Regions from separate parts of the Homo sapiens genome. Here regions 2, 3, 4 and 5 are each linked to region 1. The links are contacts of gene promoters, found by promoter capture Hi-C in blood cells and fetal thymus (Javierre and others, 2016). All regions are on one chromosome and are shown on one strand. Each heading gives the region's core, a stretch centred on a gene start or on the middle of the fragment in contact. The rest is flanking DNA. Distances are from core to core; before and after follow the strand shown. Region 1 holds the start of ATL1 (atlastin GTPase 1). Region 2 overlaps CDKL1 (cyclin dependent kinase like 1). Region 3 overlaps NIN (ninein). Region 4 overlaps NIN (ninein). Region 5 holds the start of L2HGDH (L-2-hydroxyglutarate dehydrogenase).

Evidence for each region. Contacts are between HindIII fragments. The CHiCAGO score rates a contact against its expected background, and 5 or more counts as called.
Region 2: a contact is called between a fragment that was not itself captured here and the fragment with the promoter of ATL1 in region 1, in 2 of 17 cell types (M0 macrophages and total B cells). The highest score is 5.4, in M0 macrophages.
Region 3: a contact is called between a fragment that was not itself captured here and the fragment with the promoter of ATL1 in region 1, in 1 of 17 cell types (megakaryocytes). The highest score is 5.2, in megakaryocytes.
Region 4: a fragment that was not itself captured here is called in contact with the fragment with the promoter of ATL1 in region 1 in 1 of 17 cell types (megakaryocytes); the score reaches 7.9 in megakaryocytes.
Region 5: the fragment with the promoter of L2HGDH here is called in contact with the fragment with the promoter of ATL1 in region 1 in 16 of 17 cell types (naive B cells, fetal thymus, M1 macrophages and 13 more); the score reaches 7.7 in naive B cells.

Annotation. Positions count from the first base shown.
Region 1 is chr14:50,556,096-50,561,433 of GRCh38, forward strand. ATL1 (atlastin GTPase 1) reads left to right here and starts at 4,050. Exons shown (of 14, transcript NM_015915.5): 1 at 4,050-4,204. The coding sequence starts at 4,171. It also overlaps a transcript of MAP4K5 not described here. RefSeq lists an enhancer at 4,144-4,643 and a silencer at 4,385-4,744. The HindIII fragment of the contact is 3,968 bases long and covers 1,945-5,338 here.
Region 2 is chr14:50,328,435-50,333,493 of GRCh38, forward strand. CDKL1 (cyclin dependent kinase like 1) reads right to left here. Exons shown (of 10, transcript NM_004196.7): 9 at 3,828-3,998; 10 at 1-1,747. The coding sequence ends at 1,640. Among named protein-coding and RNA genes, the nearest start is that of DMAC2L, 19 kb to the left of the region's middle. The HindIII fragment of the contact is 778 bases long and covers 1,056-1,833 here.
Region 3 is chr14:50,722,217-50,727,868 of GRCh38, forward strand. It overlaps NIN (ninein), which reads right to left. Exons shown (of 31, transcript NM_020921.4): 30 at 3,737-3,850; 31 at 1-1,456. The coding sequence ends at 1,247. Among named protein-coding and RNA genes, the nearest start is that of SAV1, 57 kb to the left of the region's middle. The HindIII fragment of the contact is 1,811 bases long and covers 584-2,394 here.
Region 4 is chr14:50,752,767-50,758,178 of GRCh38, forward strand. It overlaps NIN (ninein), which reads right to left. Exons shown (of 31, transcript NM_020921.4): 18 at 3,726-5,412; 19 at 1,976-2,101; 20 at 1,797-1,866. Among named protein-coding and RNA genes, the nearest start is that of NIN, 76 kb to the right of the region's middle. The HindIII fragment of the contact is 518 bases long and covers 1,566-2,083 here.
Region 5 is chr14:50,309,050-50,314,414 of GRCh38, forward strand. L2HGDH (L-2-hydroxyglutarate dehydrogenase) reads right to left here and starts at 3,180. Exons shown (of 10, transcript NM_024884.3): 1 at 2,962-3,180. The coding sequence starts at 3,101. It overlaps DMAC2L (distal membrane arm assembly component 2 like), which reads left to right and starts at 3,275. Exons shown (of 6, transcript NM_001382507.1): 1 at 3,275-3,340. RefSeq lists silencers at 3,240-3,369, 3,430-3,659. The HindIII fragment of the contact is 12,145 bases long and covers 1,728-5,365 here.

The DNA of each region.
Region 1 (5,338 bases), core at 2,800-5,299:
ATACCTTTTCTTCTTTTATTCTGATTTAAAATGAACTTGACTTTTGACTTTTTAAAAACATTTGTATTTTAAAAACATAATTCACATACCATAAAATTCACCAACTTAGATTGTACAATTCAGTGGAGTTTTTTTGTTTTGTTTCATTTTTTGAGACAGGGTCTTGCTCTGTCATCCAGGCTGAAGTGCAGCGGCCTGAATCCTTGAACTCCTGGGCTCAAGGGATCCTCCCACCTCAGCCTCTTGAGTAGCTGGGACTGCAGGTGCACATCACTGCACCTGGCTAGTTTTTCTATTTTTTTTATAGAGATGGGGTCTTTGTATGTTGTACAGGCTGGTCTCGAACTCCTGGCCTCAAGTGATCCTCCCACCTCAGCTTCCCAAAGTGCTGGGATTACAGGCGTGAGCCACTGCACCCAGCCTAATCCAGTGGCTTTAGTATACCCAAGAGTTGTGCAAAGTTGATTTCATGATGAATTCTAAAACATTTTCATTGCCCCCAAAAGAAACCTCATACTCATTAGCAGTCACTCTCCAATTTCTCCCCAACCTCCCACTCCTTTCTTCCATCCCTAAGCAACAATTAATCTACTTTCTGCCTCTTTAGATTTGCCTATTCTATAAATTTCATATAAATGGAATCATATAATATGTGGTCTTTGTGGCTGGCTACTTTCATTTACTATAATGTTTTCAAGGTCCATCCATGTTGTACCATATATTGGTACTCAATAACTTTTTATGATCAAATAATGTTCTATTATATGGATATACTACATTTTGTTTATCCATTCACTAGTTATTTGGCACTGGGATTGTTTCCACCTTTTGGCTATTATGAATAATGCTGTTATGCATATTCCTGTACAAGTTTTTTTGTGGACATATATTGTAATTTCTTTAGGGTGTATATCTAGGAGTGCTAATGTATATGGCAATTCTATGTTTAACTTTTTGAGGAACTGCTAGACTTTTTCCCAAAGTATCTGCACCATTTTATATTTCCATCAGCAGTTTATGAGGGTGCCAATTTCTCCACATCTCACCAACACTTGTTATTATCTTTTTGATTATAGTCATCATAGTAAGCATTTTAAAACTTATTCTGGAGAATGTGAAACATTACTGTTCTAAGACTCAGAGTTATATAAAAGCATTACACTTAGAGAAATATCAGTCCCCTTAATCCCTACTACCCTCTTCCCATTCTTCCATTATTTCTACCCTATTCCCACCCATCTCCCGTAGGTGACCAATCTCATTGGTTTCTGGTTTAGTCTTGCTGTATTTATTTTTCACAGATGAATGGATACTTTTTTCATATCCTTTCCTTTTTCCAGGAATGGTATACTATTTTCACTTTTTCCTCCTCATTTAACATTGTATTCTGGAAATCACTCTGTATTAGCTTATAAAGATCTTCTGTATTCTTTTTCACACCTACATAACATTCTATTGCGTATATGTATTATAATGTATTCAACCACTCATCTATATGTGGGCATTCAGGTTGTTTCCAGCATTTTACAATAACAAAAAGTAATGTAATACATAACCATGTATGTTTATATTTTCATACTATTGAGGTATTTCTTCAGAGTAGATTAAACTTATGATTAAAAAGATGCATTCTAGCAATGTCCACTGAAAGGGTCTAGAAACAGTGATCTTCACCCAGCAATGAGCACAACTAGCACCCACGTCTTGGTTTCTAAACACCTTTTCTCGTTAAAAGGAGCCACAGCATCTTGGAGAAATGGCTATTCTAGTTCTAAGATAGGGAAAATACAAAGGAACCTGAAACATTTTCTTTTACCAGAATACAGGGAACTGCTCAAAGACAAAAAGGGACAATGTTAAAAGGACACACGAGCTGACCCTCAGCCAAATTAGGGGAATTTAGGCATTAAAAAGAATGGTGATGCATAGCACAATTTTTTTAAAAGCTTCCATTAATTTATAGAGGGACTCAACATAGAAAAGTGGGAGAGGGAATGCCAGCTACTTAATTTAAAAGACATGACATCAAGAGGCTGAGGTGGGCAGATCGCTTGAGCTCATGAGTTTGAGACCAGCCTGGGCAACATGGAGAAACCCCGTCTCTACATACAAAAACAGCCAGGCGTGCTGGCGACCGCCAGTAATCCCAGCTACTTGAGAGGCTGAGGCATGAGAATCGCTTGAACCTGGGAGGTGGAGGTTGTAGTGAGCTGAGATCACGCCACTGCACTCCGGCCTGGGCAACAGAGGGAGACTGTGTCTGGAAAACAAACAAACAACAGATAATGATTTTAAAGCCTCCATTTAAAAAATCACTAATATGAAATTGATTCAGGCAAGGATCAATGGATGCTAAAATCAGTGGATGAAAAGTTATTGGCCAATAGTACAAAAAGTCACATACAGAGAGCTATTTATTTAAGCATTTTTTTGTGATTCACACAGTCTCAAAGTATTCACCTGCAGATTACTTACTAATTATAAACACAACAGGTTTTTAAAAAATTAATTTCTTTTTCAATTGGGCATAGGTGTTGAATTATATAAATTTTTTCTTTTTTGTGTGTAATCTATTGTACTCTTAAAAATGGGATTCATATGAAAGGGATTTTCAGGCTGGAATGTAAGCTGAGAATGATAGTAAAGGAATATAAGAAGAAAAGCAGACCACACTTCTCTTTTGTTCTATGAACTTGGTTTATAGGTATAAGGATGAGATAATGTCTGTCTTCCTATGTTGTTTCATTAATGTCATTTCAACTCTGTTGAGCACAGACTTCTTTAAAACCATGTTGTAAACTTGGTTACAGTGTTCACGACTCTGCAGTCACTAGAACCAGTAACTGAAATATAATGCATAAGATTTGGCAGTGGTGGGGGAGTTTGTTTTCAGATATGTTGATGTTCAAATGTCAGTAGGAAAACAACGTGAGGATAACCTTAGGCAGTTATAAACACACCTCTGGTATAATGTCCTCTCTTCTAGAGGGCAGAAGACTACAAGTATAGATTTGGGAATCATCAGCATGGAGGTCCTGTCTGAAGCCATCATAGTAAATTACATTGAGAGAGTGTAGCGTGAGGAGTTGCTTACCATGAGGAATTAGCAGAGATCATGGATCTGGTAATTAAGAGGCTGGCAGTGATCTCCTAAGAACCGATCAGTACAGAGTGTGAGTAACAACCAAATGGCAGAAGGAAACTGTAAGGGACGGCATGATGGTATCTTGAGGTTGAGGTAGTATAAAGGGACAGTGTTTCCAGGTTACTGAAAACAACTAAGTTTGTAGCAGAGAGAAAGCAGTGAAAAGGGAAAGATTGAAAGTATTTTTATTTTTTTTCTTTTCCTTTCAAAATTGTCTGCAACCTTTATGGCTGCCAGGGCCCACCCATACCCAGACTATGTAGTATGATTTCAGCTCAAATAATTGCTATTGGACTATAGGTCTGGACCTTATCTTTGCAAATCTAGTGGGAAATTTTACCCAGTGGATATTGAGTTACAGATCGTAATGAATCTACAGCTTTCATTTATCTTGATCTTCTTGATATAAATTTTGCTATTCTAATTTTAAGACAAACTACTCAGTATACATATACAAAAATGCATGATACCCTCTTTACTAACATGACCTTGCTTTTAAAATGGAAAAAAAAATGGGTGCCTCGTAGATAAATGCACATTATTTTAGCTACTTTGGCTATATAAATGTTGCCAGCTTGTTTGTACTAATGTATAACCGTGCTTGAAACAGGTATTTGAACATCCAGAATCATGCAGTATATCGGTTTGTGTATTTCTGATAACGCTGTTAAATTCTTTGAGAGTGTGTTCGAGGGGGGTGCTGTTTATTTGTTTGTGTTTTCCGTTGAAAATGTTGCGGTACGTGGTCTATCACTGTCTTCACGGTCTGGGGGTGGACTGAGGTAGGGAGGGTGTGACGCTGGTATCTGTGTGAACTCGGGCTTGTGATGCTGAGCTTGGTTCATCTGCTTTCTCCTCCCTTTTCCTCCCCACTCCTTCCCACCAGCGCCACAGCAACATCCTCAGAGTCTGAGCGAACTGCGCCCAGCGCGGGCACGGAGCCTCCCACCGCCAGCAACCTGCGGCCCCGGAGAAGGCAGCGAGCGCAGTGACAGCGCCTCACCGCCACCAGCTCCTGGACCACCATGGCCAAGAACCGCAGGGACAGAAACAGTTGGGGTGAGTAGCAAATGAGAACTTCTGCAGCCTGCACGGGGTCTTCTGGCCCTCCACTTTCTGCTTCTGTGGAGACAGGGAGGGCCAAGGGCTGCTAGGTGCCTGCGTCCACGGCTGGGAGACGGGCCGTAGCCGAGCCGCTCCCTGTTTGGGCGGAGGAACCATGGCCGAGCGGTACCCGCGTCACCGAATCGCGCTGTCGGGGTGAGGGCTGCAGCTTCGCGCAGGCCGGGCCTCCAGCTCCTTCTTCCCCACCCCCCTCCCGCCTCCTCCCAGCATTTGGACAGCACCCACCAGGCGCCTCCGGGGACTTGTGGGTTCCGCCTTAGCGATCGGTTGGGAGGAAGGCTATGGGGGTGGGCAGGGGGCTGTTGTTACTCGGCCCCAGAGGGGCGAGGGGTCGGGGATCTAGAGCAGGCCAAGCCCCAACCCCCCTCCCCGGGAGCCGCCAACTCGCTGGCTCTGCAGGGCGCGGGCTCCCGGCGGCGGGCGGCGGGCGGCGCGCTGGAACAATGAGGCGGAGCGCGCCGGGTCCCGGACGGACGGTAGCAGACCGAGCAACTGGGAGAAGGGCCACCCTCTTGGGAATTCCTGAGCACTGCAGTACTCCTCTTAATTTGGGGGTTGGGTGGGGGAATTGGGGAAGAAGGAGAGCAAAGTTGTGGTTTCCAGCCTTCTGCCCCACCCCGACGTGGTACCCCATTCAGACCAGCCCCAAGGGTGGCTTTGTTCTTTGATTTTACCTTTTGGAGACATTGGGCTCATGATTCAGCACCAGGCCGAGGGGAGGGGAAAGGAGAGGCGAGACCCAGTATGTTCACACCGCGAGTGGGTGGGCGGTGCTCACGCAGGCGGAGAAGAACGGGCGCAGCGATGCGGAAGAAATCGCGGCCCCGCCCGCCTTGCTGCTCCAGACCTAGTTCTGGACGGTTAGTGTGGGCAGGCTGGGCGTCTTTTTGTCGTAGGTTCCCGATTTCTTGCAGTCACAGTGCTAAACTCACCAGCATCTTAGGAACGAAAGCCCTCTAAGGCATTTATTTTATTATCTGAACCAGAGAATGTCTCAGGCTACTGTGGCTTGGTGGGTAAATAAATATTTTGTTCATCAGCTTGTTATTTAGAAATTGTTATTTGGAA
Region 2 (5,059 bases), core at 195-2,694, 230 kb before region 1:
ACTTAAGTAAATGGGGTCAGATGTCATCATGAAGAAAATTAACAGGAAGAAAATGAGAGTACAGAAGAAATGTTTTGAAAATAGAGTGAAATACAACTTTGAAGACCATGGCTGAGAAGTGCTAGGAATAGTGGCAGCACATCAACCAGAAATGGTGTTGAGCTGTAAGAAACAGACGTCAGGCTTCATATTGCCCTTGTGTCCAGGGGACAAGGATGAAAAAGCTTTTTGATTAAGAGCAGTAGACCAAATCAAAGCTAATTATGTCATTTTGGCCAGGCGCAGTGGCTCATGCCTGTAATGCCAGCACTTTGGAAGGCCAAGGCGCTCAGATCACGTGAGCCCAGGAGTTCAAGACCAGCCTGGGGAACATGGCAAAACCCTGCCTCTACCAAAAAATACAAAAAAATTAGCCAGTATAGTGGCACATGCCTGCAGTCCCAGCTACTTGGGAGGCTGAGGTGGCAGGTTTTATATATATATATAAAAAACACATATATATATATGTGTGTGTGTGTCATCATTTTAAGTCTCACTGTGCAAAGCTATGAGTCCTCAATACTTTGGACTACTTAGTGTAATATATTAGTTGTTAGAATAGCATATATATATATATATATATATATATACATACACATACATACACATACAAACATAGTGCAAAAAGATGTTTCAGGGAAAACATCAGTTTACAACATAATGTCTTTCATGACTCAAGTAAAAGCTCACAAGTAATTTCTTCTGAAACCCAGATCACTGAATTACAGGTTTGCCTATAGATGTACCAGGTCAAAGGCTGTGCCAGAGAGAATGAAATACTAATTATTTTCAGGCTGATAGGTTCAGTTCCTGCAAAGCCTGTAGGTCTTGCTCTACCCTTTGACTGCCTTAATCAGCTGCCGAGCTTCATGCCATTGTTTACAAGGGGAATTGGGTGAATAAATGTAGACAGATTACAGTAAATCCACGTTGCCTGCAAAAGTGACTAAGGTGTATCCTTTACTGATAAAGTAAGGATGAAATGTGGAAACATATAATTAAATTATAAATTACCAAGCTTTTGTGATAATTCATATGCTTTTAAATATTTTGAACCTAAGTGTTACCCTCAAAATGTTTTAAAATATAAAAATCAAGAAATAGAGCAAGCAGGAAATGGGATTTTAAACATTTTGATTTCAAGAAATAGAACTATCTTAAATATGATGCTGAAACAATCTGAGAGGCAGGAGATAGGACTCAGGCAACAGAGATCCGAGGAAATATATATGGGCATTTTGTGGTTCATTTTTCTTGTGTGGCATGTGGTACAACTGAAGCATAAATCTTTTTGATATCATCTAGTTTTGCCAGAGGTATGGGACAGTTCATATTCTGTCCATAAGTTCGGCTACTTACATAAACTGAAATACAAGTGCAACTCCAAACAGGTTTTTTCTTTTCTGGACACCATCATCAAGCATGGAAGACTGGATCTGGAATTTCCCTTCATATCTTGCCAGTTGGCCTCCCAGTTTCTTGCTTATGTTTTCTCCTGGTGTGTTTTCAACATTGTAATTGTTTTCAATCAACTGTATAAGTTTTATTTTCTTCAAAGCATCTATTGATTCCTTTTTTAAAATCATGTCTCCTAGCTCCTTTAAATGTTTGGAAAACGGTAGTTAAGTTTCTTGGTATCACAGTAGTACTTCTTATTATCCAAAGCTGGAAGGATGCTGCTGCCAGTTAGCTGGGGTAGGTACTGCAACTAAAAATGCAAAACACAGAATTAGGTTCAAAACTGTGCCATGCATTTTTTTCATTATTTAGAATATATCACAAAAGAGGTAATTAAGCTTTTTAGTATAGAAGTACTTTTTTTGCACACAATCCAGGACTTGAGAGAGGATTAAATGTTTCAATTTCGTCTTGGCTTTTCCTTTTAAATGTTTATATTAAAAAGGAAAAACATTCACATTAAAGAAGATTTAGAGAATATGAAAAGGGGAAAATCTACATGTTAACATTATTGGGAAGAAAACATAGATTTACAGGAGTTGAGAGCTTGCTGAGATCTTAGGGATCATTTAAGCCAATGCCTTGTCTTATAGCGGAGAAAACTGATAAACAGAGCACCTAGGCAATTTGCCTACTCACTCTCTTCCCTTAGTTAAAAAGGCAAATCAAGCATGGCACAGTGTACACTTGTAGTTCCAGCTACAAGGGAGGCTGAGTGGGAGCATCCCTTGAGCCCAGGAGAGCAGCCTGGGCAACATAGCAAGATCCCCATCTCTAAAGAAAAAAGACAAACTGCTTCCTTCAAGCTTCCTGAAAATGTTTGAATTTATTGTCAATGTCAAATGAAAGAACACACCTGTATTTTTTGTATTGCACTATATGTCCTTCGGTATCCCTAAAAAGGGAACTGTTTAGTACTTTTACTTTCTAGAAAAAAATTTTTCAGCCATTGTCCTCAGAAAAGTGCTTTTTAGTACTTTTAAATCAGTTGATTCTTTCAGGATTTAAAAGCAGTACACCAGGCCAGGTGCGGTGGCTCATGCCTGTAATCCCAGCACTTTGGGAGGCCAAGGCGGATGGATCACCTGAGGTCAGGAGTCGAGACCAGCCTGCCAACATGGCGAAACCCTGTCTCTACTAAAAATATAGAAATTAGTTAGGCATACTGGCACATGCCTGTAATCCCAGCTACTGGGGAGGCTGAGGCAGGAGACTCACTTGAACCTGGGAGGCAGAGGTTGCAGTGAGCCAAGATCATACCACTGCACTCTAGCCTGAGCGACAGAGTGAGACTCAGTCTCAAAAAAAATCAATACACCAAATAGTGGAGTTTCCCTATTTTTTCAAATAGAAATATTTCCATCAAAACCTTTTGCTCTCGAATACAAACTAATACTGAGATAAGGAATAATTCTGGCGTGGGGGTGGAGGAGTCTGTTTCTGGCCTGTTGTGCTACCTGGGTCACATATGATGGAGAATAAAACATTAATTTTGTAACTGTGATCTACATTAGGGCCCTGGAGTTCATGCTGTACTTGTTCCTCATGGACCTTTTTCACCCTTTTCCCTCCTCCCAGCCTCATACACAACACACCCTGGTACCATTCAGCATGCTGGGCAGTGGAAGCTGCAAAGAGAAAGACTAAGGCAAGATAATGTATAGCTTAAGGAGTACCTAGGTAGATCCTGAGGTTACCCAGGATCAGTTGTGGTTCCAACTACAGTTCATTCTAAATTATTACAGCTTTTGGCTTATCACAAGATGCTTAATGTAAGGCCATTTTATACCAATCAGGATTCTTCACAGTCTCCCAGTGTGCAGTTTGGATGCTGTTCTCTGGTTAAATGTATTCAGCTGATACCACCAAAAGCACTCATCACTGTATTTGCCCTAGCCAACTCTGACAAAGGATCAGGGAGGAAAACAGCTCCTTTTTTGGACAAACCTGGAGTGTTAGTTTTAATACTAAAAGTGTACATGATGACACAGAACTGCATGGGGAAAATCTGATTTCATTTTCCAAAGCCCAAAAAGTCTCCTTAGCTGGACTCATACTCATGTACCTTGTTGAGACCTGTGCTCATGCAGGCTGGAAACCCTGGCCCCTGTGTGGCATCAGGAAGCAGCAGGACAAGGGCACCTTTAGGATTCAGGGAGAGGGGGCTTCAGGAGACAGATGTCCCTGGGGCCCTGGTTGATAGATCCTATGACCTGTCTCCTAGTGCTGGAATGAGGATGCTGGAGCTGAAAGCCACAACTGCCATCCTCAAGTCTAGATTCCAACTCTCTGTACCAGGTGGCAGGTAGGAGATCATTTCAAATTATAACCTTGGATGTTTCTGTAAAGCAGTGGTGCTTTCGGCTCTTTCTTAGGGTCTTCCTTGTTGGTTTGTTGTGTTCTTTTGCCAAATCCTCTATTTCTCTGATGTTTTCAAAATATGGGTGATGCAACAGCTGTTCACATGTCAGCCTTTGAGTAGGGTCCATGTGGAGACAGCCCTAAAAGAACAGAAAATTCCTTCTTCTTACTTCTTCAAAATTGTATTAACTTATTAATGTCATTTTTTTCTTCTTTGAAAGATGAAACTTCAGTTGCAATAAGAAGGGGGAAAAGGCAGGAAAACACACCAGTCATGATTTTAGTTCCTTCCAGTCATTCCTAAATGGCACTCACATATTAAATAAATAGTTTCTAGAAGTAGTAATGAAAAATCATTTTCTCCACCTTATTCTGTTCTTGAAGCAATTGGTACTCTGCCCTGGGAGAGTAAGATATAATTTTAGAGTTTACCTCAGTGGCCAAATGGGGTAATCCATTTAGCCAGTTTGGTCCCTTGCATGTACTTTGTAAAAACTAGTGTTTTTATTTTAAAAATGATATTTACACATGATAACAAATACAGTTAATACAGCATACAGCAAAGTCTCCACCACTGTAGGTGTTCCCTTCACCCTTCTAAAATCAGCTACTTTTTTTTTTTTTTTTTTTTGGTGTATCCCTCCAGAAATAGTTGATGCATTATAAGTATATATGATCATGTATATAAGGAGAGGCATAACGTACATGCCTTTATATTACATCATTCTTAACTATTTTTGTTGCAACTAAGTAGGCCATGGAGCTCATTCTTGGATAGATTAGATTAAATTTCACAACTACATACTCCAAGGAATTGACTCAGTTTTTGTTGGTTATGTCAGAGGTGTTGAAACCACAGCAACACCATCTTGAATAGGGGCTGGGTAAAATAAGGCTGAGACCTACTGGGCTGCATTCCCAGGAGGTTTGGCATTGTTACTCACAGGATGAGATAGCAGGTCGGCACAAAATATAGGTCACAATGACCTGATGATAAAACAGGATGCAGTAAAGAAGCCGGCCAAAACCAAGATGGTGATGAAAGTGATGTCTGGTTGTCCTCACTCCTCGTTGTACACTAATTATAATGTGTTAGCATGCTAAAAGACACTTTCACCAGCACCATGACAGTCTACAAATACCCATAGCAATGCCCAGAAGTTACCCTAAATAGTCTAAAAAGGGGAGGAACCCTCAGTTC
Region 3 (5,652 bases), core at 239-2,738, 160 kb after region 1:
TGAGCATGAGTGGAAAGTCCTATTTGGCACTCCTTGACCTCAGGTGGCATGCCAATGATTATCACAGTAAGAAATTCTTAGAATCAGATTTGAGGTATAGAAGGAATAAGAAACACAGAAAATTTTGACCTATATTAAATAAACTCTTCTATAAGTCAGGTTTTTAACCCTAAAATCAAGGCCTTTTTTCCCCCAGAATATTAAATTTACTAAAAACGTAGAAATAAAAATTCTAGTATGGCTGTAAATATATAAGACAAATAAATGAGGTCACATGGTTTATACATTTCAAATTCTTAGAGAGGCCCTACAGTAGTTCAGGAAGACAGTTTACAGTATTGTTCCCTGAGTTCTTGAGGCAACCTCAAGTAAATTTATGAACTCTAAGATTTGAGAGACAGAAAACCTACATGGTCTGCTTATCCCTCTTTTCTAAGAGTAGCTATTTACTCCAAAGTGGTTTGTTCAGTGCTTTCCCTATAGTTCAACTGCTTTAATTATGTGGCTTTATCCGTTTCTTAGAAGACCAGCTCCCCAAATGAAACTTTTAAGAGAAAGAAGAAAAGGCTGTTTAAAGCAAGTAAGCTTTTAACATTAGTTAAGAGTGCAATTGAGTAAATCAGTTCTAAATCTATAATACAAGAAGAGTGGTAATACTGTCACAGGTGTTAGAAGGTTAGAATTCTACAGATTTGGGTTTGTCTGATGTCAGCGGTTAATAACCACTTAATAAGCCCTGCCTCCTAACCAATTATACTCTACTAATTGTCTACCAATTCAAAGAACCAAAACTATTATAATGACTTTCCAGTATTTAAATATGTAAGAACACCTAAATTTGGTTTTAAAATAAAGTTTATAACAACCATTCTCATCAGATCTCAAACTTCAAATATCTAGATTTTACACATAGATTTGTAATAATTAAAAAAAAAACCAAAACCACAAAAACTCATTCAAAACTGGTATTTTTTAGGTTCTTGAATTTTCATATGTCCACATTCTTGGTGGCTATTAAAATTTTAAAATAAATTCAAATCTTGGGAATAATTTAAGTAGTGAAATATGTGAGTATTTATTTTCAAACTCCCATAAGGGTCTATTTAGAAAAACTAATTATGATAAATGGAAACTCCAGTTGTGTTGCTGGCAGTTTTAGGTTAGGCTTAATTTTAAGTTGAGAACCTACTGAAATGTTCATCTATTTCAGTAAAGTGCACAAATATGAGTGTACCCTTTGGTTTGGCTATGACCTCAAAGGAGGTGTAGAAGTCAATGGCGCTGGTGTCAGATTCCTAACTATATTACTGAGGCTGGCAATCTTCTCCTCCAGGAGGTAATTTTTCTTCTCTGCTGTTTTCTGTCGCTGTTCAGTCACTTCCAGAGCTTTCAACAACTGGGCATTTTCAACATACAAGTCCTTCACCATTGCGTCTGCCTTAGTGTTCTTGCAGAGCTAGAAACAGAACCAGAAACATCTTGACTCCATTTCTGTAACTCTTCTTAAACCTTCAGTTTAAGGTCTGACATAAGGACAGTTGTTTTATAAAGGCAAATCACTTCGTCTAATTATATTCTTTTATTTTACAAAATAGCTTTAACATCAGACTTGGCATCAGGGACACCATTGGAACAAATCTACTTTTTCTAAGCTATTTCTTTGCATGAGATGTTTATGTCAGTTACTAATAGAACAGATTGATATTAGATGGCACCAAAAGTTTTTTTTCTACCTAAATAGGCATTATTTCTGTATTTATTCTTTAAAAATATCAAATACTTTTATAACTTAAATTCCTGAGGTGTCAGGTGTGGACTGTTTAACTCTGCTTGTAACAACAGATACTTGAACTTACCATTCGTAACTACAACCCACTGATTATTTTAAAATTTAGCTCATGTATTATAACAGAGATAAGATTTGGGCAGTTACTTCTCCTGAATTGTCTTTGTTTTTGTTTTGTTTTGCATGGGGCCTTGTCTAGTCTAATCTTTATAGTTAGAATATATGGTCTAGGTTGGGGTGGGAAAACTTGTTAGCAGCCTTGGGATACTTTCATTGTTGTTCTGGTTAATATTTTCCAGTCCCCCTTCCCATGTTACAAGTGTTCATTTTACACCCAATTTCAAGTAGGGCATCTAAAAGTATAAAGGTTTATGAGAATAAAGAGTAACTAAAGAGTAGCTTAACAACCTATTAGCATTTCAAAGGGCAGGGATAAGGATGACAGCACTCTCAAGCTCAGAACCTAGATGACTGGCAGACATCACATAACATTTCAGAACATATTTTCTGTTGAACTTCCTGAATACAACTTTTTTTCCTCCCTCCCTCTCTTCCTTTCCTTAAAAAAACACTTTGATGGTTCTTCATTGCCGACAGAATAAAAATCAAGCTTCTTTCTTGGCTCAGCACTGGAGGCCTACTGTCCTGTTCCCCCTTCCTCTCTAGTCTCTCCTCCTGCTTCTCCCAGGACAGTGTGAACTGGCAATGCTGAAGTGTTTATACGTGTCCACACCCCACATGTGGTCATAACTCCATGATGTTCCCACAGCCTAGGATACCCTTCCCCACACTTTCTTAACTAGTTGAAATCTTAACTCTCAAGATGCAGCTTCAGAGGTCTTCAGGAAGCTTTCTTTAAACTCCTGGGTTGGATCAAATATGTCTTTCTCTTGTGTTCTCCTCTACTGAAAACAGGACGGATCCCACTTATTTCTGAACCTACCATTTGGCCAAACGCTTGGCACCTTGTAAGTGCATTCTATATGGGCAGGGGCTTTGTTCACTGTTGTATCCCTGTGCCCACGGCAGGACCTGGCCCACAGTAACTATGTGTTGAATGCTTGAATATGTAAAGAACTGAATGGATAAATGCTCACTGAATGGGACTTTTTCTTCCCTGTGTATTAAGAAACAGGACAACCAAAAGTTGCTGTCTACAGCTGAATTCAGACCCTCTCTTGGGGTTGTTATTCTTAGCTTTTAAGTATCTAAAGAACTAGGTTGGGCATTTTCTGCCCCCCACCCCACATGTTCATCTCAGTTTCCAGAGAGGCTATAACACTCTCCCAGAGGGTAGTACTTTCTGCTTGTCTCTTCAGTGGATGCGCAACTAATTTCTAAACACCAAGGCCACATCTGCCACCAGCAGGTGAAAAGGAGCAGGCTGTTTAAGTGGTCCTGGAATCTGGGGTCTAGATTCTAACTCAAAGTACATCTTTTTGGAGTCTAGCTGTAGCAATAAGATACTTGTTGAGGTTTTCATAAGCTGTTGGGAACAGGAAAGCTAAAGTTCCATTTATTATCCCCCTATTTTTTTAACCAATATCATTTTTCAATTTAAATAGGAATATTTCCTGTCTTGGGCAGAGAAAAATCTGTTGATTCACAGGGACCTAAAGCATGTGAATGGACATGCTTTAGGTCTATGTGAATCAATAGATTTTTTTTGATCTTTAAAATCTTAGGTCCATGTAAATCATGTTAGCAAAGATTTACACTTTTAAATTGTGGACAAACATGCCTTAAACAGAGCTTTGGAAAAAATACAGAGTTCGTATTTTTTGGGGTGATATGAGGGATAGCAAATCCTAAGTTCTTACAGACATTTATAATAGAATTTGCCTTTATTAGACAACATAAGTTAACGAGTTAATGGCAATAAAGGGATGTAAAACTGGAGTTAAAGCTGGAATGTGAGGTGGGTGAACAGAGATGACCGGGTAGGCTCACTTGTTCTTTGAGCTGATTCACTTTCTCTTGAAGAAGCCTTTTCACTAGTTTCAGTTTCTGTTCAACTTCTATCATTCGTTCCTCCATGACAGTTACCAGTTGTTCCTGGTTTCCCTGAAGGGAAGAAAAGTATATTATTCGAAAATCATGTCACACTGAAAACACTGGTTTATTTTCCCCACAAGATGCCTAGAGAAAGGACAGCAAATGTTTTGCCTTTGTAACAGGAAGGATGGATTTCTCATGAAATGAGAGTTTTGAGCCCTGCATGGATTGCATATGTCAGAAAAGTAACCCTATCAGATAAAGGATCAGACTGAAAAATCAAAAGAATCTTACCTGTGTTACCATCATCCCCCTGATATAAAGCAAAATTCTGAAAACCCATAATTTAATACCTGTGAGTACCTCTAGTAAAATGGACATCCAAGGTAACTTGGAAGATCGCTATCAACCTCCCATCTGTGATCTGGGTCTCTGCAATGTTATGGGCCTCTCAACAACAAAACAAGCACTGAATATATTCAGGGTTTCCTAACATAACCAATCAGCTTGCAATATGCATGTCTGTTTTTCCTTTGAAGTGGCTGATGACTGTGAGGGTGGTAAGTTTCTTTCTTCATAATAGCCTCTTCCTGCCAATTTTTCTAGTCATCTGTTTCCCACTTGTAAATGTGAAGCACACATCTGGATTGGAGGATGGGTTTACTATCAGAGCAGATTGAAAATGAAAAATCTCCTGTTCTCACACAACGGTGATGGGTTAAGGAGTAAGTGAGTTTTGGAGAGGAGAGAGACCTAGAGAGATTAGAATGCAATTGACTTATTAGAATGCAACCCCCATCCCTCTGCAGTCCACCAAAATGTCCCCATAAGGAATTTCAGATTTCATAAAGGTATTAACAGCTGATGGTAGTTAAGATATACTTTAAAAGACATGCAGAATGACTAAACATGAGTCAAAGGCTACCATCTGTTTAGATACTAAGTAGTAACACTTAATCATAAAAGAAACCCTAAATCATGTAGTAACTATCCGGAGGATAAAAATTGTAATAGGCAAAGGTCTAATGCAGGAAGTAAGTTACAAAAAATTGGGCCTGGAGGACATCTAGCTTTTAAAAAGGCCTATATTTAAAAAAAAATAATAGCTTTTTAAAGTTCAAACATAAATACAAAATGATGTCTATTTGCCCAACAAAGCAAAACAAAAAAAAAGATAATTCAAAGAACATAGAGTTGGCAAAAGAGTGGAAAAACAGGAAAAACAAAGGCAGTCATATACTTAAAATTTATTTTATTGTTTCATCAAAAATTTCCTGTCAAAAAGATTTGTACATCTTATACAAAACAGTATAAATACCCCTGGTTTTCTTCAAATTCCATATATAAAAGTAGTACCTTTGGTTAAAAATAGTTACAACATATGGAATGAGAAAATATATAGACTACATCCTTTCAAGAATCTTAAATCCACACTCTTTAAAGGGTATAAATAAAATGATTTGTAACAAGCTGATGTTTGTGAATTTGATTCACAAGATCTGTCATTTCTACATAAATAAATAAGAGACATAATACTGCAAAGGTTTAACAGTAAAAATAATAAAATAATTTAAAAGAGCACTTAATTCCAACATATCTTAGCTTATGTCTCTGTGTGTGGTGTGTGTGCATGGGTGGGTGTGTGCATCTGTCTGCCATGGTAAGAAATGCCATCAATAGCAGCCCAGTTTTCACAGGTGCCCAATCCTTCTGTAGGAATCTGCGTGCACTGCTCGCTGCTCCGGTAGCAAGGCCTAGAGAAAGAAGGCAAGTAGTACACTTCACCCTCATGTCAGGATGAGTTTTTAGGGGGAGTCTAAATTCACACATCTACAATGCAAACAATTTTTAAAAGCACACACATTAACACT
Region 4 (5,412 bases), core at 575-3,074, 190 kb after region 1:
TTACCCTACTTGTGCTAAAAAAAAAAAAAAACAGATTTAGAGACATAATTGTCTTTTCCCTCTTTATATAAAGTTTAAAATATATATATATTTCAAAACAGAAATAATACACACTCATTATTACAAATTCATTCCATTCACAAGTGTATGAAGAAGTGAGACACTCAGTCTGACCCCACTCTACAGGGGAGCCCATTGTCCACAGCTGGATATGTGTCCCTCCAGATCATTTTCTACGCATATACAGAACCCATACACACATACAGATTCTTTTCTTCTCTTTAGCAAAATTTGGAAATTTTATGTTTGGACAGCTTGCTTTTTCTACTTACTTACTTAAAGACTCTTTCCAGGTGGGCACGGTGGCTCACGCCTGTAATCCCAGCACTTTGGGACGCCGAGACAGGCGGATCACCTGAGGTCAGGAGTTCGAGACCAGCCTGAACAATATGATGAAACCCCATCTCTACTAAAAATACAAAAATTAGCCGGGTGTGGTGGCATGTGCCTGTAATCCCAGCTATTTGGGAGGCTGAGACAGGAGAATCGCTTGAACCCAGGGGGCAGAAGTTGCAGTGAGCTGAGATTGCGCCATTGCACTCCAGCCTGGGCAACAAGAGCGAAACTCCGTCTCAAAAGGAAAAAAGACTCTTTCCAAGTCAGTGTGTTCAGCAACCACCACATACTACTTTTTACTGGCTATAGGATATTCCATGTAGTAAGATATTCCATAATGCATTTATCTGTTCCCACGTTGATAGACATAAAGTTTTTAAAATCATTATTTCTTTTAAATGGATCTTTTAGAAAATCCATTTATACATGGTAGTATTTTGTATTTAGAATTATTTTTTAGAAGTAGGATTGCTGGGTTAGAAGATCTGTATATAGATATATATTCATTATTGTTTCAACAGATATCTCTAATATGTCTTCCTCACAGTGCTACCACCTTATAATCCTAACAACAATGCATGGGCACAGTCATTTCCTCACATCCTTTTAAATACTAGATATCAATCTTTACTTCTTGCTAATTCAATAGGTTAAAAAAAAGACGCTTATTGAATTTGCACTTCTCTAATCACTAATAAGGCTAACCATCTTTTGTATTCTTTTTTTTTTCTGTGACTTGACCATTCATATAGATTGCCTATATTTCAACTGGATTTTCCCATTTATTTGTAAGAGTCCAAAATACATTTTGGATGTTAACACCTTGTCTATTTCAAGTGCTGAAAATACTCTTTCCCAATATGTCCTTGTCTTTTGACTGCTTCAGACAGATTCTTAAATGGCCTTCCCTTTTTATAACTGCATGTTGTAAGATTATACAAATTGAGCACTGAATGGCACCAGCTATCTGAATAAAATGTAATTCTGTGAAATGATATGCTGATTAGCTGGCATTCTGTATATGTGAAATTCTGCCCTTAACTTTCTGCTTTCAATCATGGTGAGGAAAAAGGAAGGGCTAACATTAACTGAAACTGCACAAGGGCTACAGCTAATATTTCGTAGGTATGGTTTTAGAGGTATCACCTCCTCAATTCTGCTGATGATAAAGCTTTATCAAGCACTTAGGGCCTAGAATAATATATACATTATTTAACATAAAACAGGAAGCTAGTTTAGAGTCAGTATGAGGTAAGTTTCCATTTTCAAATTCAGAATTTACAACCTTACCATCATTAGCTATATGCTATTCATTACCGTGTGCTGTAAATTTATAAATTTCAAAAAATGGGAAAATTTTGGAATCAAAAAACATTGAGAAATATTAAGTATTTCCTTACCTGTTTCTTTAAATTTTCAACCATCTTCTGAACTGCAGCATTTTCTTGTTTTACAGTTTCCGTTTTTTGCCTAAAAGGAATGATGAAAATAAAATTTAATGGTTAGGCTTTAAAAGCTGAAGTAAAAGAATTTTAGTCTTTGCAAAAATGTCTTAGGAAAATGTAAGTATACGTCTTACCACATTTCTTCCTGAGATCCATTTAATGTCCCTAATTTCAGGTTAGAAATGCTATCTTCTTCATTTAAAGTAGTAATTTCATTTCTCAAAATAGAATTTTCCTGTTGAAGCTTTTCAGATTCATATCTGAAGCACAGAGATTGAAAAAAATTGTTACAAGGCAGTCATCTGGCATCTTTGGAAAATATTTTCTAGTAACTTCCAAAAGGATGAGTATTCAATGCCAGTTAAAAAGAAAAGTCTAAATTAGTAGTCTCTTAGTATTTGGAAATCGAGTTATGACATATTGACACATTTCTTTTGGGAAGTAAGAATTTCACTAAAAGATGTTAGAGAAGTGTAGCTAAAAAACCCTTAAGCCTGGAGAAATGAATCAAGACTCAATGCTCATTCTGGTTGTTGATTTTTCTCAATGGCAAGCATACTGCTTTGAGCAAATGTCTTCATTTATCTCAGTCTCAAGTCCTACCTGTTCTGAATACACATAAGCCATGTTACAAAGCTATATTAGCTTAGTTTTAGGCCCCTGGGTACCTAGGGAAAGAAAATTCTCTATTGAAATCAAAGGGCCACAATGAAATATGTACACTGTTTACTTTGTGATTTTATTCATCTCATTATATTCTGATTTTTAGGACTAAAAATGGTCTGAAGAAGAGGAAAAACTACATTCAGAATTAAATTATTTCAGAGACATTTCAGACGTCCTGTAATAGTTTACAAGTTTTTTTTTTTTTTGAAAAACCAAATTTGCTAGAAGACTATGCAATTATATTTTACAATGTCAAGTGGGCAGTGGTTCAAATTAATTCTACTTGTATCTCTGCTTTTCAAGCATATTTATTAGAATCTGGAGGCTCCTCAAATTATATGTTCTAAGATAAATTTCCACTGTTTGTTTTGTCTCTTTTTTTTTTTTTTTTTTTTTTTTTTTTTTAAAAGAGACAGGGTCTCACTCTGTCACCCAGTCTGGAGTACAATGGCATGATCATGGCTCACTGCAGCTTTGACCTCTCAAGCTCAAGCAACCCTCCCACCTCGGCCTCCCAAGTAGCTGGGACCACAGGTGTGCACCACCACGCCCAGCAAACATTTTTTTATTTTTCTGTAGAGGCAGTCTTGCTATGTTCCCTAGGCTTGCCTGGAAACTCCTGGCCTCAAGAAATCCTCTTGCCTTGGCCTCCCAAACAGTTGAGATTGCAGGCATTTAAGCCATGGTGCCTGACCATTTGCACTGTTTATGGGTTATCAGCATGTGCTTCAAGTGATATGAGTACAAAACTATAAAGACAGAACATTTTTTCTATATTAGCATAAGAAGTGAGTTCTTATCTACTAAGTTAATAATACACAAAAAATCATTCATTTGTATATAACATGTTTCCTCAAAATGAGGAAAGTAACACTTAGCAAAATAAAAAAAAAAAATCCCCTATCCATCTAAATGAAATAAGTGCTAGAAAAAAGTTAAAGAGGTACATTGAGGATGCACATGGTTAAACAGCAAACACTCGCCATTGTGAACTTTCACACCCCATATGAACACTTGTTTGCTACAGCGGAAGGGAATGCCTCCTAAACAAGGTTATTTTATTTGTTAATACGGCACAGAAGCAGAAGGAAGTCTAGAGAGTACTGCTCTCTTCGTGAAGACTACTAGGTTAGTTTCTCTAGGCACGGCAAGCAGTGGAAGTTAGATCTGGTGAGGTGCTCTGTGGGATTCGTGACGTCTAGAAGGTACATACATTACCTCAGAAGTTCAACTTTTTGCTGCATCTCACTGCACGTGATCTGCAAGTCATGCATCATTGCCTTCAGCTCTTCCTCCTTTTCTCCGTGAGAAAGTACATCTTTTTGCTTAACTAAAATAGTGACTCTCTCCTTCAACTTCCTAGTCAGCTCCTGTAACTTTGTTTTCTCCAGTTCTAACTCTGCTATGGTGGCCTGATGCTGAAAATGTTTGTCTTGAAAGCCTAGGAGAGTAGTGTTTTCCTCCAGTATAACTTGATTCTGTACTCTTGGCCTTTCTTGATGTGTCTGAATTGTTCCATGTAACCAGGCAATTTCATGTGCTTTTACTTTTTCCAAGAGCTGTGTGTTCCCCTCAAGGTACTGGTTTTCTTGCTTACATTCCTCTATGACATGATGTACACTCCTAACCCTGGGCACACACTCTTCCAGTGTCTGATTGAGCTGGAGTATATTTCCATCAGGTTCGATTTCCAGGTTCTCTAAACTGGCTTCCCATAAGCAGCAGTCACACCGCTGGACCACGCTTTCCTGAAGCTTCTCAATCTTGCCTTGAAGTCTCAAAACCAGAACATTCAGCCCCTCATTTTCTATTTTGACCTCATCGTAACTCTTTTCCAGGCTGAGGAATGTTTCAGTGACTTCCTCCATTTTCTTCAGCTCATCCTGCAACCTGAAAACCTCTGCAGTGAGTTCTTTGTTATTTTCTAGTGCCTCATCGTAGCGTGTCTCCATCATTCTCAGCTCTTCCTGAAGGCAGTCATTTTCTCGGCTCACATCTTCATACAACAGCTTATATTTGGGAGAAGCCTCAGGGATTCTCTCAAGCATCTTCAGTTTCTTTTTTAGCACAGAAACATCAAAAAGTAGGTCCTGTTTCTTTTCAGAAGCTCGATCACAGTCCGCACATAACATCATTAGCTGTTCCTGAAGCTGACTAATCTGATTCTTCAGCTCCCAGGATTCAGTCCTGGTCTCTTCACTGTTTTCAAGCTCAGAAAAACCCTCTACTGAAGCTTCAGACTCCTCTATTTTGACTTCCTGTCTCTGAACAGAGCTCGTCCCTGTACTTCCCAGGTCCCGGACCTCATCATCTTCCAGGTCACTTAGGACATGCCGCCTGGTCACACCTTCTACTTGCTTCGTTCGGTTTTGCTGTAAAAACTGCTCTGTTTGTTCCGCAGTATTTCCAAAAAACTCAGTAGCTGGCTCATCCAAACAAGAAGACATTACTAACCCTGGCTCTAACTTTTGTAGCCTCTGTTGCAATCTAGAAATTTCAGTAGCCATTTTCACATTTTCCTTCACTGCCTGTTCATGAGCTCTCTGCAGGCTTAAGAGGACGTCCCCATTTTCTTCCAACAGCTGCTCCCCTTGCTGAAGCAGGGACAGGGCTCCATCTCCTTCCACCTCCTCCTCTCCTATCACCTGGCAACCACTCTGAAGCATTGAGAGAGGAGATGTTGCCTGCTGCATTTCCTTTATTTTACTCTGAAGTCTGGAGATTTCTGTGCTCATCTCGGCTCTTTCTCGATCTGCTGTCTCACAGGTCGCTTTGTGAATGTTCTCCATGGCTAGAAGCTTGGACATCATTTCCTGCCTTTCCTGGTCATGTTCCATTTCTAGTCTTTCCAGCCGCTGGCTGGCCAGCTGCTCCGAAGCCCCTGCCTGGCACAGGACCTCCTCAC
Region 5 (5,365 bases), core at 1,930-4,429, 250 kb before region 1:
TATTAGTCCTTTGGGAGATATGCAGTTGCTGGTATTTTTTTCCCACGTCTTGGTAGTTTTTTCATTCTCTTAACAGTCTTTTGCAGAGCAAAAGTTTTTCATTTTGATGAAGTCCATTTTGTCAATTTTTTTCTTTTAGAGATCATGCTTTTGATGTCATCTCTATGTCCAAAGATCTTGTCCTTTTTCTAAAAGTTTTATACTGAATATTTGGTGATATAAAAAATTTCAGGCCGGGTGCAGTGGCTCATGCCTGTAATCCCAATACTTTGGGAGGCTGAGGCGGGTGGATCACCTGAGGTCAGGAGTTTGAGACCAGCCTGGCCAACACGGTGAAACCCTATCTCTACTCAAAATACAAAATCAGCTGGGCGTGGTGGCACATGCCTGTAATCCCAGCTACTCAGGAGGCTGAGGCAGGAGAATCCCTTCAACCTAGGAGACAGAGGTTGCAGTGAGCCAAGATCATGCCACTGTACTCCAGCCTGGGTGACAAAGCGAGACTTCGTGTTAAAAAAAAAAAAAAATTTAGATTCACAGTTGCCAAGAGTTAGGAAGAATGGAGAGGAAGGTGTGAATATAAAGAGATAGGTAACACAACAGATAACCTTGTGGCAATAGAATATTTTTATACCACCCTTTTTTTTTTTTTTAAGAGAGTCTTGCTCTGTTGTCCAGGCTTCAGCGCGGCGGTGTAATCACAGGTCACCACACCTTCAACCTCCTGGGCTCAAGCGATCCTCCTGCCTCAGCCCCACAAGTGGCTGGGACTACAGGAGCAAGCCACCACACCTGGCTAATTATTTTTTAATTTTTTTGTAGAGCAGGGGTTTTGCCGTCTCCCTTTGTTGCCCAGGCTGGTCTCCAACTCTGAGGCTCAACCTATCCTCCCACCTCGGCCTCCCAAAGTGCTGAGATTATAGGCATGAGCCAGCATGCCTGGCCACATTTTCATATCTTAATTGAGGTGGTAGTTACACAAATTAATACATATGATTAAACTGCATAGAACTAAACACACACACACACACGAATATATGTAAAACTGATGAAAGCTGAACAATGTCCGTGGATTTTGCCAATATCAATTTCCTAGTTTTGATATTGTACTATAGTTATATAAGATGTTTTCATTGGGGTAAATGGGGTGAAGGGTACATGGGATCTCTTTGTACTGTTTATTTATTTTTATTTTTTATTTTGTAGAGAAGGGATCTTATATTTTGCCCAGGCTGGTCTCAAACTTCTGGGCTCAAGTGATCCTCCTGCCTCAGCCTCCCAAAGCACTGGGATTACAGGCCTGAGTCACCACGCTTGGCCTGTACTATTTTTGCAATTTCCAATGGATCTATAATTACTTCAAAATAAAAGTATAGGCCAGGCACGGTGGCTCACACCTGTAATCTCAGCACTTTGGGTGGCTGAAGAGGGAGGTTCACTTGAGGCCAGGGGTTCGAGACCACCCTGGGCAACGTCTCTACAAAAAAATAGGAAAATAATTAGCTGCCTGTGGTCCCAGCTCCTGGAGGACAGGAAGCATTGGGGAGGGGGGCTGAGGAGGGAGGATCGCTTGAGCCCAGGAGGGTGGAGGCTGCAGTGAGCTATGATTGTGCCACTGCACTCCAGCCTTGGCAACACAGTGAGACCCTGACTCCAAAAATTTTTTAAAAAAACATTTTAAGTATAAACAAAACTTTCACTAGCCCTACTTTTCTTTCCTTAAGAAAAGCTTCCCAAAAGAACTGTCCACATGCCCCATAACAAATCACAATCGCTATTACTGGTATCCCACTCTACTCCCCCTATCCACCAACACGCAGCAGCCAGAGTCAACTTTTAGAACATCAACATTTAATTATTAGCCTCTTCTTTTTTTCTTTTCTTTTCTTTTTTTTTTTTTTTTTTTTTTTGCGAGACAGAGTCTTGCTCTGTCGCCCAGGCTGGAGTGCAATGGTGCGATCTCAGCTTACTGCAATCTCCGCCTCCCAGGTTCAAGCGATTCTCCTAAGGCTCCGGAGTAGTTGGGATTACAGGCGCCCACCACCACGCCAGGCTAATTTTTTTGTATTTTTAGTAGAGACGGGGTTTCACCATGTTGGTTAGGCTGGTCTCCAACTTCTGACCTCAGGCGATCCGCCCGCCTCGGCCTCCTAAAGCGTAGCCTCTTCTTAAAACCCTTTTAAATAGCTTCCCGTGGCTCTTAGAATAAAAGTCAACGTGTGGTTAAAATAAACTAAAAACCTTGCTGTGATGTAGTCCTTCTGGGTCATTCCACACCATATGTCTTCCACTAAACTTCAGTCACACTCATATGGCCCACCTTCTAGTCGTCAAAATAGCCAAAACCTCTCCAAGCCTTACAGCCTTCACACAAACTGTTTCTTCTACAGAGGACAGAGAAAGACAATGGTTTCGAATGTGACGTCCAAACTATAAATCACAGGACACTGAATTCTGCGGGCTTTCATTAGCATAAGAGCTGCCTCCGACGGGGGCAACACTATGCGGGGTGTGCCAGGAACTGATTTAAGACTGTATTCAGATCTTCCAAGCAACGCCAAAGACTCCAGCTTATAAAGAGCATATTTGATTGCTTATACTGTGTGCTAGGTCCTTTTATCCTTCAAATGACCACCTACAGGAGAGACTAAGGTCCAATTCACAACTGAGCCTTTAAGGAGGTTAAGTAACTAGCCCAGAGTTCAACAGAAAGTGGACGGGTTGTTCAAAGCCAGAGCTACTCCCGACCTCTACTCTATACACTGCCTTTCCTCCGGCCCGTAAATACAACGAATGAACCTGCAGGTTGGTAGCTCCTGGGATCCGAGGTTGGAGTGCCACAGGACCCCAACCTGCTCTCACCCCGGGACAGGGAAATACGAACAGGGGCACAGGTCCACCACCAGGTGCCTCCGCGAGGGGCAGCAGCGCAGGCGGCGGGGAGGACCAGCGGCCACTCACCTGGTGCTGGCGCTGCGGCTACCTCCACACAGCGGTCTTGGCCTCCCAGACGCGAACCCGCACGCCCCAGGGGAGCCACCGGCGAAAAGCCCGCGGGCCCGTCCGCAGGCACCAACCAAATAACGCAGCGCTGGCACCATCCCCTACGCACGCTCCCCTCCCTCAGCGCTCAGAAGAAGCCACTTGACCCTCCACGGCCGAGGACCCGCGCTCTTTAGCCCCGCCCCTCACGCGGGGGCCAATGAAGTGGCGCGCCTTCGCCCCATGTGGGAGAGGCTGCGGTGGCCAATAGGCGCGCGCGTCGGAGGGCGAAGGGCCGGCCAGGGTGCCGCAGACGCGGGGACGCTGGCTCGCTCCCTCCCTCCCTCCCTCCGACGCTGTGAGTAGAGAAGCTAGGCCCCGAGCCGGGCGGGACTAGGGTGGTGGTTGTGTTCTGCCCTCGCCCGTCGCCAACGCTGGGCTGACTGAAAACCTGGCCCTTTGGGTCGCGCGTCTTCGACCTTCACCGCCATGCGGACATGGGGCCGTGGGAGAAACTCTGGGCGGGATTACGGTGAAAATTCTTGTTTGGGCGGGCCCTGCGGCTTCTTTCTTCCGGCTCGCCCTCGGCCCCGCCCCCGCCCCGCCCCCGCTCCAGCTCCAGCCGGGTCCTCGCTCGGCCCCGCACGCGGCCCGCGGTAGACGGAGGGCCTGGGCACCCACCGTCTCCATCCCGGCCCCAGCCCAGTCGAGCGTCCACTAGAAGGGCGCTCCCTGTCCGGCCCTAATCCTCGCTCCTCACGGAGGCTCTTTGTCACAGCGAAGACTGACAGCCCGCAGTCTTCTGGACTTCTTTTATGGGGCTCCTGGCGGTGCTATTCATTCAGTCATTGATTCGTCTTGTAAATATGGAGCGCCTGCTCTGTACTCGACCCGGCACTGGGTACCGGAAGAACCAGACAGCTCGGTTTTTGCCACCATTTATAAGTCTGTGTCCTTTTCTTGAGTACTGAACCGAGATACAGTTTTAAATGTGCTGTGCGGTCTCTGAGCAGCGACTCACCTGTGCAGGTCACTTCACCTGATTCCCTTTATGTAAAAATGAGGGCGATGGGCTGTGTAATCTCTAAAGGACCTTCTAACTCTTTAAAATTGTCACTGTGCCGGTGTTGCTAACACTCATTCTGTATGCTTGATGGCAGTTTTTAATTTTTAGGGTTAGGACAGCTGAACATAACAAATAGAATTATACAGATTTATTACCAGAAGGACTTCGTGTGCCTCTAAGAATCTTGGTTCCAGTCTTTGGTCAGGTAGCTCCAGGAAATCACTTCACCTCTTTGCCTCAGACCCTCCTCAGTGAACTAGGAATGATAGCAGTGTCTCCCTAGTCTTAGGGCCGTTGAGCGGATTACACGAGATAAGGTCAGCAGGTGTTTAGCACAGTGAAGCATTTGCTACGTGATGACATTTATTATGGTTAAAGGGTTTTACCACCAGAACAGTGGTACATAGTTTGCTTTATTTGTTAAAACAATGTAGAATATTGCCTGCTTGTTCCATCACAGATGAAAAAAAGAGATGGTTATTCAACTTTGTGAGGTAATTGTGGATTTCCATGCAATTGTAAGAATAGAGATTCTGTGTACCCTTTACCCAGTCTTCCCAGTGGTAGCATCTTGCAAAACTAGTACCATATCACAACCAGGTAATTGACATTCACACAATCCATTGATCTCATTCAGATTCCTCATTTTGTATTAGTGTTCTCTGTGTATATTTAGTTCTATATGGTTATCAGGTGTGTAGATTCTTGTATCCACCACCACAGTCAAGGTACAGCCCAGGTCCATCACCACAAGGGTCCCTCCAGTTGCCCTTTTATAACCACAACTTACCTTTGCAGCCCCACCCAATCTATTCTCTGTTTCTAAAATTTTGTTATATCAAGAATGTTACATAAATGTAATTATTGTAATTATACAGTATGTAACTTTTATTGACTCTTTTTCATTCAGCATAATCCCTTGAGATATATCCAAACTGTTACATGTATCAGTAGTTCCTTCCTTTTTATTACTGAGTGGTATTCCATAATGTAGATGTACTACAGTATTGATATGGTTTGGCTGTGTCCCCACCCAAATCTCATCTTGAATTGTAACTCACCATTCCCATGTGTTGTGGGAGGAACCAGGTGGGAGGTGATTGAATTATGGAGGCAGGTCCTTCCTGTGCTGTTCTCCAGATAGTGAATGAGCCTCACAAGATGTGATGGTTTTAAAAACGGGAGGTTTCCCTGCACAAGTTCTTTCTTTGCATGCTGCCATCCATGTAAGATGTGACTTGCTCCTCCTTGCCTTCCACCATGATTGTGAGGCCTCCCCAGCCATGTGGAACTGTAAGTCCATTAAACCTCTTTTTC